2 separate regions of the Homo sapiens genome follow, and region 1 is linked to region 2. Evidence: promoter capture Hi-C in human tissues and cell types (Jung and others, 2019). All regions are on one chromosome and are shown on one strand. Each heading gives the region's core, a stretch centred on a gene start or on the middle of the fragment in contact. The rest is flanking DNA. Distances are from core to core; before and after follow the strand shown. Region 1 overlaps DCDC2 (doublecortin domain containing 2). Region 2 holds the start of MRS2 (magnesium transporter MRS2).

Region 1 (6,099 bases), core at 3,000-5,499, 61 kb after region 2:
GCTGGGATTACAGGTGTGAGCCACCATGCCCAGTCTTGCAGTAAAGATAATTTTTACTCTCTTTTCCACATTTATATTTAAAAAATTTAGTAGTCTGTTTTGGGTTTCCTCTTCTTTTATCAGTTCTTCCTCATCTGCTATTGATATCCATCAATAACTCTCAATAACCAGTCACAAGAGAAATATAAGCAAGAAGAGAGAGCAGAAGGTCAAGCTCACCTAATTCAAAGGGATCTATCAGTGAATAAGTGTGCTATCTGTACTTCAGAGAAATGCTGCCTCAAAAGTAAGACCACAGTGAAAATCTTCCCAGAGAGTAGCAGCCTTCTTCTTGGATAAGCCATCCTTCTGAATCCTCTTGAATACATTGAGATAGGTATATTCTCTCAGGGAGAACGTGGATCAACCTTGTTTCTTCTTAGTGGGGTGGAGAATTTTAGAAGTACCAGGAGAGGAAGAGAGAAAGGAAGAGAGTGAAACTGCAAAACTTTGCCTTGCTGAAAAGTTTGTGGGAACCCGGGTTGTACTTCAGGTCAGTTACTCAGGTGAATGTCCTTAAGATTTTGAATATCATTATTAAAATTTCACATTTCAGTTTAATCATTAGGCATAATCTCTAATGAAACATACTATAGGATTTCCTACTTAAAGGCTTTGGTTGGGAACGGGATTCTAGACATTAAATGGATTCTAGATATTAATTGGGATTCCAGGCATTAATTATTAACCTTATTGCAGGAAGGCATGGTGATTATGTGGTTTAACTCACTAACCTTTAGCTTGGGAATTTTGAGACCCAAGAGGCTTCAAAGAGCGAACTACTGAAGAGGTAATCTAAATATTTCTTTCTTTAACTTGAGGAAAACTTTCCAGATTATGTTAACTTGAGGAAAACTTTCCGGATTATGTTAGTCAGGTTTATTAATTTATGAAAGAATCAAAGAAAATAAAACACACTTTTGCAAATTCTTCCAAAAATATTGAAGCCCCTCCCCAAACTTTTATTTTATACCTTTTCCCCCACCACTCTGATATAACTGCTACTTAAGAAGCATTCTTTTAAGGAAAGCCAGTTCACATCAGTGACCAAGGTGACTCCCAAGTATTCATGACCTTACCAAGGTTTTCTGCTAAAGAACAACTGCTATATTTCATTTTTCTTTCACACTTTCTTGTTTTACCCTTTTGTCAGCATTGAACTGTGTGTATGGATGTGTATGGATGCGTGTATGTGTGTTTGAACAAGACTAAGAAAGACAGAAGTGTATCTGTCAACCAGTGAAATATCAGTCTAATGAAAAATATTCATCAATAACTCTCAATCAGCTCTGATCAAAAGCTAAAAGATTGGTGATTTTACTTTAGCTTTGAACATGTATCATGGCATTTGTTCCAAATATCTGGCATCCTCTCTTTGGCATTTAGGCATGATGTTAGGAAGCTTAATAACTGTGAAATTAGCAGATATGCATATTAGAGCATGTATAGTTTTTTATTTATAGTGATAAGCTGTTCTAAGCAAAGAGAAAGTTAATAAATGTTTAGAAAAGAATTATTAACCTTTTCAGAAAAAAATAGGAAAAGTAATAAAATATTAAATTACTAAATATGTGTAAAATACCACTTGTTTTTTCTCTGCCTGACTTATTTCACTTAGCATAATGTTCTCCAGGCTCATCTGTGTTTTTGCAAATGACAGAATTTCTTTTGTTTTTATGGCTGAGTAGCAATGAAGCTCACATGTGGAATCTAAAAAGTCAAACTCATAGAAGAAAAAAAAATGGTGGTTACTGGCGCTTGGGATGAGGACAGGGTGGGGAATGGGGAGATGTTTATGAAAGGGTACAAAGATTCAGTTTGACAGGAGGGATATGTTCTGGAGATCTATTGCATAGCATGTTGATTATAATTAATAATACCGTATATTTGAAAATTGCTAAATGAGTTTTTAAATGTTCCTACTACAAAAAGTGATAAATATGTGAGGTGATAGATATGTTAACTAGCTTGATTTAATCATCCCACAGCGTGCCCATATATCAAAAAATTATGTTGTACTCCATAAATACATACAATTTTGTCAATTAAAAATAAATAAAATACCACTTAGTTGAAATATCAAACTATTCTCAATACAGATTTTCTTTTAAATTCTGACCAAAATAAGATCCTTTTGGCAATTGAACAGCAACACCTATTGAACTGAGAGGAGCTTGTTCTTATATTGCATGAGATTCAGAAATACAGAAGGTGAAATTTAGGACTGTGTAGTACAGTGCATGATCTGAAATTCTGCCAAGGTATATCAAGCTTTTGGTTGATGGCAGTTTAGATACTTGTGCACTTGTGAGAAAATCAATGTTTAGATTTATATTTCAGGATAATTATTAGAATGAGCTTATTGAGTTTTCTGGTGAAATCAGAGGAACTCGTCTTGATGAAAGTATATTTCCATATGGTATAAATAATAGAAAAATGTGTCTAAATCAATAGTAATGTCTAGCCAGGGAAGACAAATAAATTGTATTCAACTTTTTATTGAATGCTGCTCATGCATGATTTTACATTTCCTCAAGAATATTTAGGCGGGGCACGGTGGCTGACGCCTGTAATCCCAGCACTTTGGGAGGCCGAGGTGGGTGGATCACGAAGTCAGGAGATCGAGACCATCCTGGCTAACACGGTGAAACCCGTCTCTACTAAAAAAAACACAAAAAATTAGCTGGGCATGGTGGCAGACGCCTGTAATCTCTGCCACGCCGGAGGCTGAGGCAGGAGAATGGTGTGAACCCGGGAGACGGAGCTTGCAGTGAGCTGAGATCACACCACTGCAGTATGGGCGACAGAAAGAGACTCTGTCTCAAAAAAAAAAAAAAAAAAAGAATATTTACCAAGAGCCAGGCAGTGGACTACATTCTAGGCCTGCAGATATAAAAAGACTCACGTGCCAATCAGAAATGACAACAAGGTAATTGTAGGAGGACTCTCTAAAGAGTTTTAAAAGGTAAGATACATGAAAAGAGTAAAAATGTTGGAAAGTAATATCAGAGATTATTAATCCAGGGGAAGAAAAGTATTATTTAGACCCAATTAATAATTGGCTTCAATACTTACAAAGAATGTGGTAATCAGCCCTCTACATCATAGCTGGGTAACAAAATGGGGGTAAAAAACATTAAGATATTGTGTGAAGATTGGTGAATTTGAGTTGGTTTGAAAGAAAACCCTTTTTTTTTTTTAATTGGAGACTACTAAAAACTTACTGAAGGAGAAAGAGTGATACCTGCTTTCTATCTATTTTAAATAGAAATACATTCTTCTGACTTGCACATTTCGGTTGTATGCCAAGATGGCAGAGGTGAATTGAGGCTTATTTAAATTTCAAAATGCGCTCTAATCTAAGGTTTTCGGGGTCAGAGCCTTCCTGTGGAAGCCCAGAAGGAGCGCTGCCCAGCTGCCACACTCCACGGAGAAGTGGCTGGTGCAAGAAGACTGCCGGAGTGACTGGCAGCAGTCCGTATTGACACCTCCTGTCTTGATTTCCTGTTTCAGAGAGTTCTTCCATGCAAATAAACATGCGATGCTGTGATTTTCTGACTTACAGTCAATATTGTTTAAGCAAAAAAGTAACACAATTTGAAGCAACACTGTGAAAGTAAAGGGTTTGAGGAATATTCCTGTTTTGCCGTATGGTTTTCATATTTAGAACTGAAGGTAGCATAGCACCCTGGACGGACATAGCAACCACCTAAAGAGATGTTTCAGTTTTCCCCCACTAACTGTATGTCCAGCAAAGATGCATTAAAGGAATAAGGGAAGTAAAGCCCAAAGGAGTCAGTAATAAGAAACCAGTATATGAAGTCATCTGTGAGGATGCTTTCACATTTGATTAGGATATAGAAACTTATTGGGTTAAACACTTTAAATTTTATTTCTCTTTAATGTAGAACAAATTCTCTGTGTGTTTGTGTGTGTGTGTGTGTGTACGCGTGCACACATGCGTGCGCCCTCTTACATGTCTGATTGTTGGGGAAGTATTTTTGGATTTTGGGAAACTTTGTTTCAAAGATCTAGAGCAGCAATAAATCTTTGGACTTTTCTTGGAAGGGTAGTTTGGTGAGAACACTGTGCTAATGAGGCCAAGGACTTGGGCTTGAATCCCACTCTTAGATCTACTAGGTCCCTGGCCCCAGACTGTTCCCTAAATAACCAGCTGTCCTCTCAAATGTGGTACTGGTTAAGGTTTGTGGGAAAGTATACATGTAATTCAGCCTACATCTATGACCGAACTCAGAAAACAACTAAAAAGGTCCATGTCTCGAAAGTAGGAGGCTAATAGTCCTATCTTTATGTGTAAAATAAAATAAGTTTCAGTATAGTTCAAAACAGATGGATGGAGGCATTTTTTTTTTTTAAAAAAAGGTAGGTCTCTATTTGCACTTGGCTGATTTCAGCAGGAAATATGCAGGCAGTATGCCCTAGTGTCTAGCTTGGTCAACAATGAAAATTCCCATGTATCATTGTGAAAGCCTCCTTTATAAGCAGCCAGCCAGATCAAACTCAGATGTCATCCCATGATTACATAGTTTGGATGTTTGGTTTGTTGAAATAAAGTTGATTTCAGCCCACCTCTTAGCTGGGGGTAGAACTTTTAAGTGGTGAAGGATCGTGGGAGAGAGACAAATAAATTGACTTTTTATATTTGCAGTGTCTAATGTTTAACCTGGAACTGTTCTCTCTAGGAAATCTCAAATGGCAATCTCTGCTGCTTTGTATTTTTTCCCTCTTTCTAGCAGTGAGTATGTTTGTGTTTCAAAGATCTGTGAACCTCTATGGCCATCTTTGCTATTTCAAATTACATAGCCATATGTAACTGGGCTGCCAACTTTTAGAAATTTTTAGATAATGGCCAGGTTCCATGGCTCACGCCTGTCATCCCAGCACTTTGGGAGGCCAAGGCAGGTGGATCGTTTGAGGTCAGGAGTTTGAGACCAGCCTGGCCAACATGATGAAACCCTATCTCTACCAAAAATGCAAAAATTAGCCAGGCATAGTGGTACGTGCCTGTAGTCCCAGCTACTCGGGAGGCTGAGGTAGGAGAATTGCTTGAGCCGGGGAGGTGGAGGTTGCGGTGAGCCAAGATCCTGCCACTGCACTCCAGTCTGGGCGACAGAGTGAGACATTGTCTCAAAAAAACAAAATTTTTTTTTTAGAAAATAAGTCATCTAATATCATTCAAGTTGCATTTTGTTAATTATATTCTAAGTGATAAAACTCCATATTCATGGCTTGTTTTCTTAGAAACGAGTGGATAACTAGATTTCCAGTATTACAAATTTTGCATTAGCTAGTTTTAGATCTTCCATGCTAGTTTTTAAAAGCTGGATTAAAAAAAGAAGTGTCAATTAAAAATATTTTTACTACAGCAAATACATTCTGTTAGTATGGCTTTTGCAAATGCATAGCTTGTTTTGCATGAAGGCTCAACTGACTAATATTTAATTTAGTCAAATAGTATATGAAAATTGAATTAAATTGCCCTTCCGCTAGCCGGTACTTCTTCTAATCAGATTGCTATTCCCTTGTGTTATTTCTATTTTAATTAATTTTATCAATAATATTGATTAACTTTGACTTTCCTCACCTATTAGGCTACCATAAGCCAGGGGAATCCTCAGAAGCTTCCTGGAAGGAATGATGTATACATTGTGACCTAAAGGGAATGAGTATGTTCACCAGGCAAACAGAAGGAGGAAGAGCATTGCAGGCAAAGGAGATGGCATGTGTGAACGTCTGCAGATGAGAGAGCACAGGGCACATTCATCTACATGTTCATCTCTGCATGAACATGTATATAATGCAATCCAAGCAATGTGATTGTCTACTGGGAATTTTCAGCATTTTTACTTAGTGACTCTTATTTATTCCGAAACTCTATTCCTCTCCACCGCTTCACCAATTCATTTCCTTATGTATAATCATATTCAAATGATAATTTTCCATCTCTTTAGGAATTCCCTTTGCTCTCTCTATCTTATAGCATCAAGTTAGTGGATCAATTTTGATGTGTGCATCAAATTTGGTGTCAAAAGACCCATC
Region 2 (5,689 bases), core at 851-3,350:
AAGAAATACTCTTCTTAATTTTAACATCTGTTAGTGACTATCTTAGGTTTGGCAGGGAATGATTTTTAAAACTAATGGCTTAGGTGAGGCATTAAAATAACTGATGGATTCCAATCACCCTTTTACCTTTCTAATTATTACTGATATCTCAGAGTTGGATGAACAAATGTGCAACATCGTGTTCTGAGATTTAAGAAAATGTCTGGTCTTCCTTTTCGCATAATTTAAAAGACTCTTCATGCACATTTGGTAGTAGATACATTTTAGAAAACATAGGTCCTAAGTACCACCTGATCTTTCAAGCATTCCAGTTGACTGGCTCATAAATTATGAAACCTATGATTTTACTTCTTTTCTACAGATATCCTTTATAGTGAATACTTATGAAATACCCCCACTGAGCTGAAATGACAAATCTTTATTTTAAAATTGTCTATTTAAAACGTGATTAGACTGAGTCGAAGTGAGCGGTGAAGTATAATCAAGTACATTTAATGACTGACAGAGGACACTGTTTTGTGCTTCCAAAGTAATTACACTGATTCCAGAGACTGTAGAAAAAAAAACCTATTTCTGATCTTTTTTCTACTACATACACGTAATGATTGTTGTAATTTGTTAGTATCTGAAGTTTCATTTCCCTTTTACAAAATACAAATTATCACTATAAGGGTAAGATGAATAAAGGTAAAAGGCATTTGCTGATTACAAATGCCTTTCAATGTTTTAATGTCACAAATTAGAGTGTAACCGGGATTGAGATTGTGAACGTCAATGCTTGTCCTAAAAGTTTCCTCCAACTTGCTGAAACTGGATTCCCAAGCATTATCAATTGAGGGTGCAGAGCATGTAACCCAACTTAGCCTCTCCAATAAGTGGAGAATGAGGTGCTGACGAGGAGTTACTTTGGGAGGCTTTTGAGAGCACAATTGAGAAAACATATTTGAGGACACTGCTATGTTCTTAATAAAGTCATTCATTTCAATACCTTTTATTCCTCAAATATTTGCACTCACATTTGTGAAAATCTTAACTTTTCACCATGCTTCAACATTTGGTGAAAAAATAAACAGCAAATAAGATTTTTTTTTCTCAATCCGATCTCCCTGGCTGTTTACTTATAGAGTACTGTAGTTGAAAGTAAGTCGTTCTCAGAAACAACTCAGTCTTTAGCCTCACTTCTAGGTGCGTCCCCAATCTCCGTGCAACTGGACAACTGTATAAATGTGTCCATAACGAAGAAACAGAAAACAGGGAAGTATTAATTTATACTTATGACTTCCGAACAGATGAAATCCTTGTTTAAAAACACCTCTCGGCCAGGTGTGGTGGCTCACGCCTGTAATCCCAGCGCTTTGCGAGGCTAATGCGTTAGGATGGCTCGAGGCAAGGAGTTTGAGTCCAGCCTGGGCAACATAGTAAGACCCTGTCTCAAAAACAACACAGAAAAAACCTCTTACAAGAGCACTTAAGCGGGTGTTAACTAACGTGATCACGGTCTGTAAACGATTCCTAGGTTGTTCCTATGGTTACATAATCTGCAGCAAGGGCGGTGGAGGAGAAGGCAGAGGGTTGGCCGCTGGGACCCCGGCAGGGCACAGCGCACATAGCAAGGTCGCATTCTGAGCGAGTGGGACGCAGCTCGGCCCGCGGGCCTGTGCAAGCTCACAGGACACGCGGGAGGCCGAGGCCTGCGGAGGGCGCGGAGCAACAGGCGCGCCGCGCCGGACGGCTGGGGCAGCAGTCTAAGGTCACTGCAAGACCAGCGTCCCAAGGCTGTTGCCGGGGAAGGGCAGTACCTGCCACGCGGAGCCGGTCGGGCCCGCAAAGCTGCGCCGCTCGGCTCCTTCCAATCAGGTTGGCTCGGCGGCCGCAGGCAGCAACGGGAGGACCCACAGAGGTCACGTCCAAGGCCAGGGCACACAGCGTCCGCCGGGGAAGTCTCATCGCGCGGGGCAGGAGGCAGGGTAAACTGCGCAGGCATTCCATGGTGCTGGAGCAAGAAGCAGGCAGCAGCCAGACCCCAGACCTTCATGCCGGACGCTGGCTGCTCAGGCCGCAGCTCTGACCTGTCGCTACCGCCCGACCTGCAGACTCTGTGCACCAGGCATGCGCGGGGCGTGCCGCGCCTGCGTGCTACTTCCCCACGCATGCTCGGAAGGTACCTGTGGGCGAGCCTGTTAAGTCCACAGCCAATAGACGTTTGCTTGCCTACCTGTACCTGCACCTGTACCTAAGTGAGGGGGCAGGCGGGCTGGGAGATGGGTGGAGCACGTTTACCTGCACTAAGTGAGCTGTCCAACCTAGGTTCTTGGGCGCTTGGAGTGTCATGGTTTTGTAGTTTGTGGAGAATTTTCATACCTATGAAAATTGCAGTTTGGAAATGAGCAGGTTACCCATTCCCACATCATTTAATTTATATTTAAATTTAACGTGGTGTAGGGAGCAAGAGGGAAAGCTCCTACTTTTGCCCTCTGAAAGTTGCTGGAATGAACTAAGTAGACAGATTAGCAGGAGAAAAAGGCATACAAAATTTGCTTAACGTGCATAGGGAAAAATCACAGAAGAGTGATTACTCAATAACTCAATTAAGGTCCAGATGCTTGTATACCCTTCTTTGTTGAGTAGAGGGAGATAGGTATGAATGGGCCCGAAAGCCAGACAGTGGTTTGCAAATGATTCTCCTTGGACATTCAGTGGGACAGAAGTACAAACAATCGCTTGTGGACAAGCTGTGAAACTTCACTCTGAACAAAAATTGTCCTATTATACAGGTAAAGTTTCCCAGGTAATCTCTTGGAGCTACCCTCAGAAGTATCTATGAAAAGTCTCAGTGTGGCTATGACTTTCAGTTTTTGTCTCTTCTCTGGGTGATTAATCTCTTCTGATTATTTAATGCGATTCCTAAGGAACGGGTTTTAAGACAATTGCATTTCTTTGGAAAAGAGTTTTCTCTGTCAGATAAGGAAATTCCTTATCTGGCTGTGCAGGAAAAGAGAGCCCCTTCAGGTGCTTGGAAAAAGTAAGAGTATCAGAGAGACAAAAGGAAGGGGGAAGGTGAGAGAGAGAGGCCTTGATTTTTAGGCTTCTTTCTGAGACCCTTTTAATTTCCTTTAATTCAAAGACTCAACATGCCACCGGGCGTGGTGCCTCATGCCTGTAATCCAGCACTTTGGGAGCCAAGCACTTTGGGAGGCCAATGTTGTGGACCACTTGAGGTTAGGAGTTCAGGACCAGCCTGGCCAACATGGCAAAACCCGTCTCTACTAAAAATACAAAAATTAGCCGGGTGTGGTTGCAGGTGCCTGTAATCCCAGCTACTTGTAAGGCTGAGGCATAAGAATTGCTGGAATCCAGGAGGTGGAGGTTGCAGCGAGCCCAGATCATGCCATTGCATTCCAGCCTGTACTGCATTCCAGCCTGTACGACAGAGTGAGACTCCCATCTCAAAACAAACAAACCCCAAAGACTCAGCATGCCAAAACATCATATTTTGGGGTATTATGGTTTGAGCCCCAGTAGTGGCAAAAATAATCAACTGTCATATGGAATGATGTCATGTATTAAACTTTTGCTATAAAGAATGAGGAGCACAGACACATAAGATTTCTATTCCATATTTAATAAAATGTAAGATAGCATCAATTTTAAGGTACCATTATTTTATGTACCACCAAGAAAGAAAAAAAAACTGATAAGTTATGCTTTCTAAACATGTAGATTGAAAGACATATCTCAATTCCAGTCTTTAAAATATGAAAAAAGTCTTAGGTTAAATACAGTATGTATGCATATTTTAAAAATATGAGTTAATAAATTTATTGTCCCTTCCACAGTAGTAATACAAGGCAGACACAAGTTCCACAGACTTCCTTTCAATATCTATGTATGGACACAAAGCTAAGGAGACAGAGATAGAAACATTTTATTCTGCAGGGTACTGGGACTGGGGATGGAGTAGGAGGGCAGTGCACAAAGAGAAGCCTTCACAGAAGAGAGGATGTTTGACTTGATAATGTGGGGAAAAGAAAGAGAGATCAGATTGTTACTGTGTCTGTGTAGAAAGAAGTAGACATAAGAGACTCCATTTTGTTCTGTACTAAGAACAATTCTTCTGCCTTGAGATGCTGTTAATCTGTAACCCTACCCCCAACCCTGTGCTCCCTGAAACATGTGCTATGTCACCTCAGAGTTAAATGATTAAGGGCTGTGCAGGATGTGCTTTGTTAAACAAATGCTCGAAGGCAGCATGCTTGTTAAGAGTCATCACCACTCCCTAATCTCAAGTACCCAGAGACACAAAACACTGCAGAAGGTCGCAGGGACCTCTGCCTGGGAAAGCCAGGTATTGTCCAAGGTTTCTCCCCATGTGATAGTCTGAAATATGGCCTCGTGGGAGGGGAAAGACCTGACCGTCCCCCAGCCCGACACCCGTAAAGGGTCTGTGCTGAGGAGGATTAGTGAAAGAGGAAGGAACGCCTCTTTGCATTTGAGATAAGAGTAAGGCATCTGTCTCCTGCTTGTCCCTGGGCAATGGAATGTCTCAGTGTAAAGCCCGATTGTATATTCCATCTACTGAGATAGGGGAAAACCGCCGTAGGGCTGGAGGTGGGACATGCTGGCAGCAATACTGCTCTTTAAGGCATTGAGATGTTTATGTATATGCACATCAAAAGCACAGCACTTTTTTCTTTACCTTGTTTATGATGCAGAGACATTTGTTCACGTGTTTACCTGCTGACCTTCTCTCCACTATCATCCTATTGTCCTGCCACATCCCCCTCTCCAGGAAACACCTGATAATGATCAATAAATACTAGGGGAACTCAGAGGCCGGTGCCGGCGCGGGTCCTCTGTATGCTGAGCGCCAGTCCCCCGGGCCCATTTTTCTTTCTCTATACTTTGTCTGTGTGTCTCTTTCTTTTCCAAGTCTCTCATTCTACCTGATGAGAAATGCCCACAGGTGTGGAGGGGCAGCCCAACCCTTCAGATAATTGAAGGCAAAGAAAAACTTTAATCATTGCTTCCAGGGCGTTGAAGTCTGGAAAATCGCTGAGTATAGAGAACATGGCTGGTAGATTTTTCATTTTACTAAAGCTTTAATGATGAGATAAGTATTTCAAACATATTACATGCCTTCAGAGATGCTTCTTTGAGAAAATATGTGATAACTTTCTCTTTAAAACAAAATTTGCACCCAGCACAATGAGACAGCTCTAAGATAACTTTTGCAAAGTCTAAGGAAAACTCTGGAACCTGTCCAGACGTACAGCCTCGTAATTCGTGGCAAAGATTTTTCTGAGAAGGGTGGGAACCATTGGAGGACTTCGAGCAGAGAGGTAATGAGCAGAGGTAACAATCTGATTTATGTTTAAATGGGTCACTCTTGCTGTGTGGGAAAGAGACTACAGAGAGGCAATTGGAAGCAGAGAGATGGTGATGATGGTTTGGGCTAAGGTGGGGATGGTGGAGAGGGGAAGATGAGTTGGGCTTGGTACCATATATTGAAGGCTGAGTTGACAACATTTGCAGATGGGATATAAGAGAAAGAGAGGCATAGATGTTGCTCCAAAATGTGTATCCCGAACAGCAGGGCCTTGCTGGTGCTATTTACTGAGATAGGGAATTTTGGAAAGGAGCAGTTTTTTTTTTGTTTGTTTTGTTTTTTGTGACGAAGTCTCGCTCTGTC

Evidence for each region. Contacts are between HindIII fragments. The study calls those that stand out against the background at their distance.
Region 1: a fragment that was not itself captured here is called in contact with the fragment with the promoter of MRS2 in region 2 in 1 of the 25 tissues and cell types used here (liver).

Annotation. Positions count from the first base shown.
Region 1 is chr6:24,339,834-24,345,932 of GRCh38, reverse strand. The region is part of intron 2 of DCDC2 (doublecortin domain containing 2); the gene reads left to right. Among named protein-coding and RNA genes, the nearest start is that of KAAG1, 14 kb to the left of the region's middle. The HindIII fragment of the contact is 4,746 bases long and covers 1,877-6,099 here.
Region 2 is chr6:24,399,347-24,405,035 of GRCh38, reverse strand. MRS2 (magnesium transporter MRS2) reads right to left here and starts at 2,100. Exons shown (of 11, transcript NM_020662.4): 1 at 1,800-2,100. The coding sequence starts at 1,989. RefSeq lists enhancers at 729-1,463, 3,672-4,407, 4,408-5,143 and silencers at 3,221-3,515, 4,401-4,695. The HindIII fragment of the contact is 9,320 bases long and covers 1-5,689 here.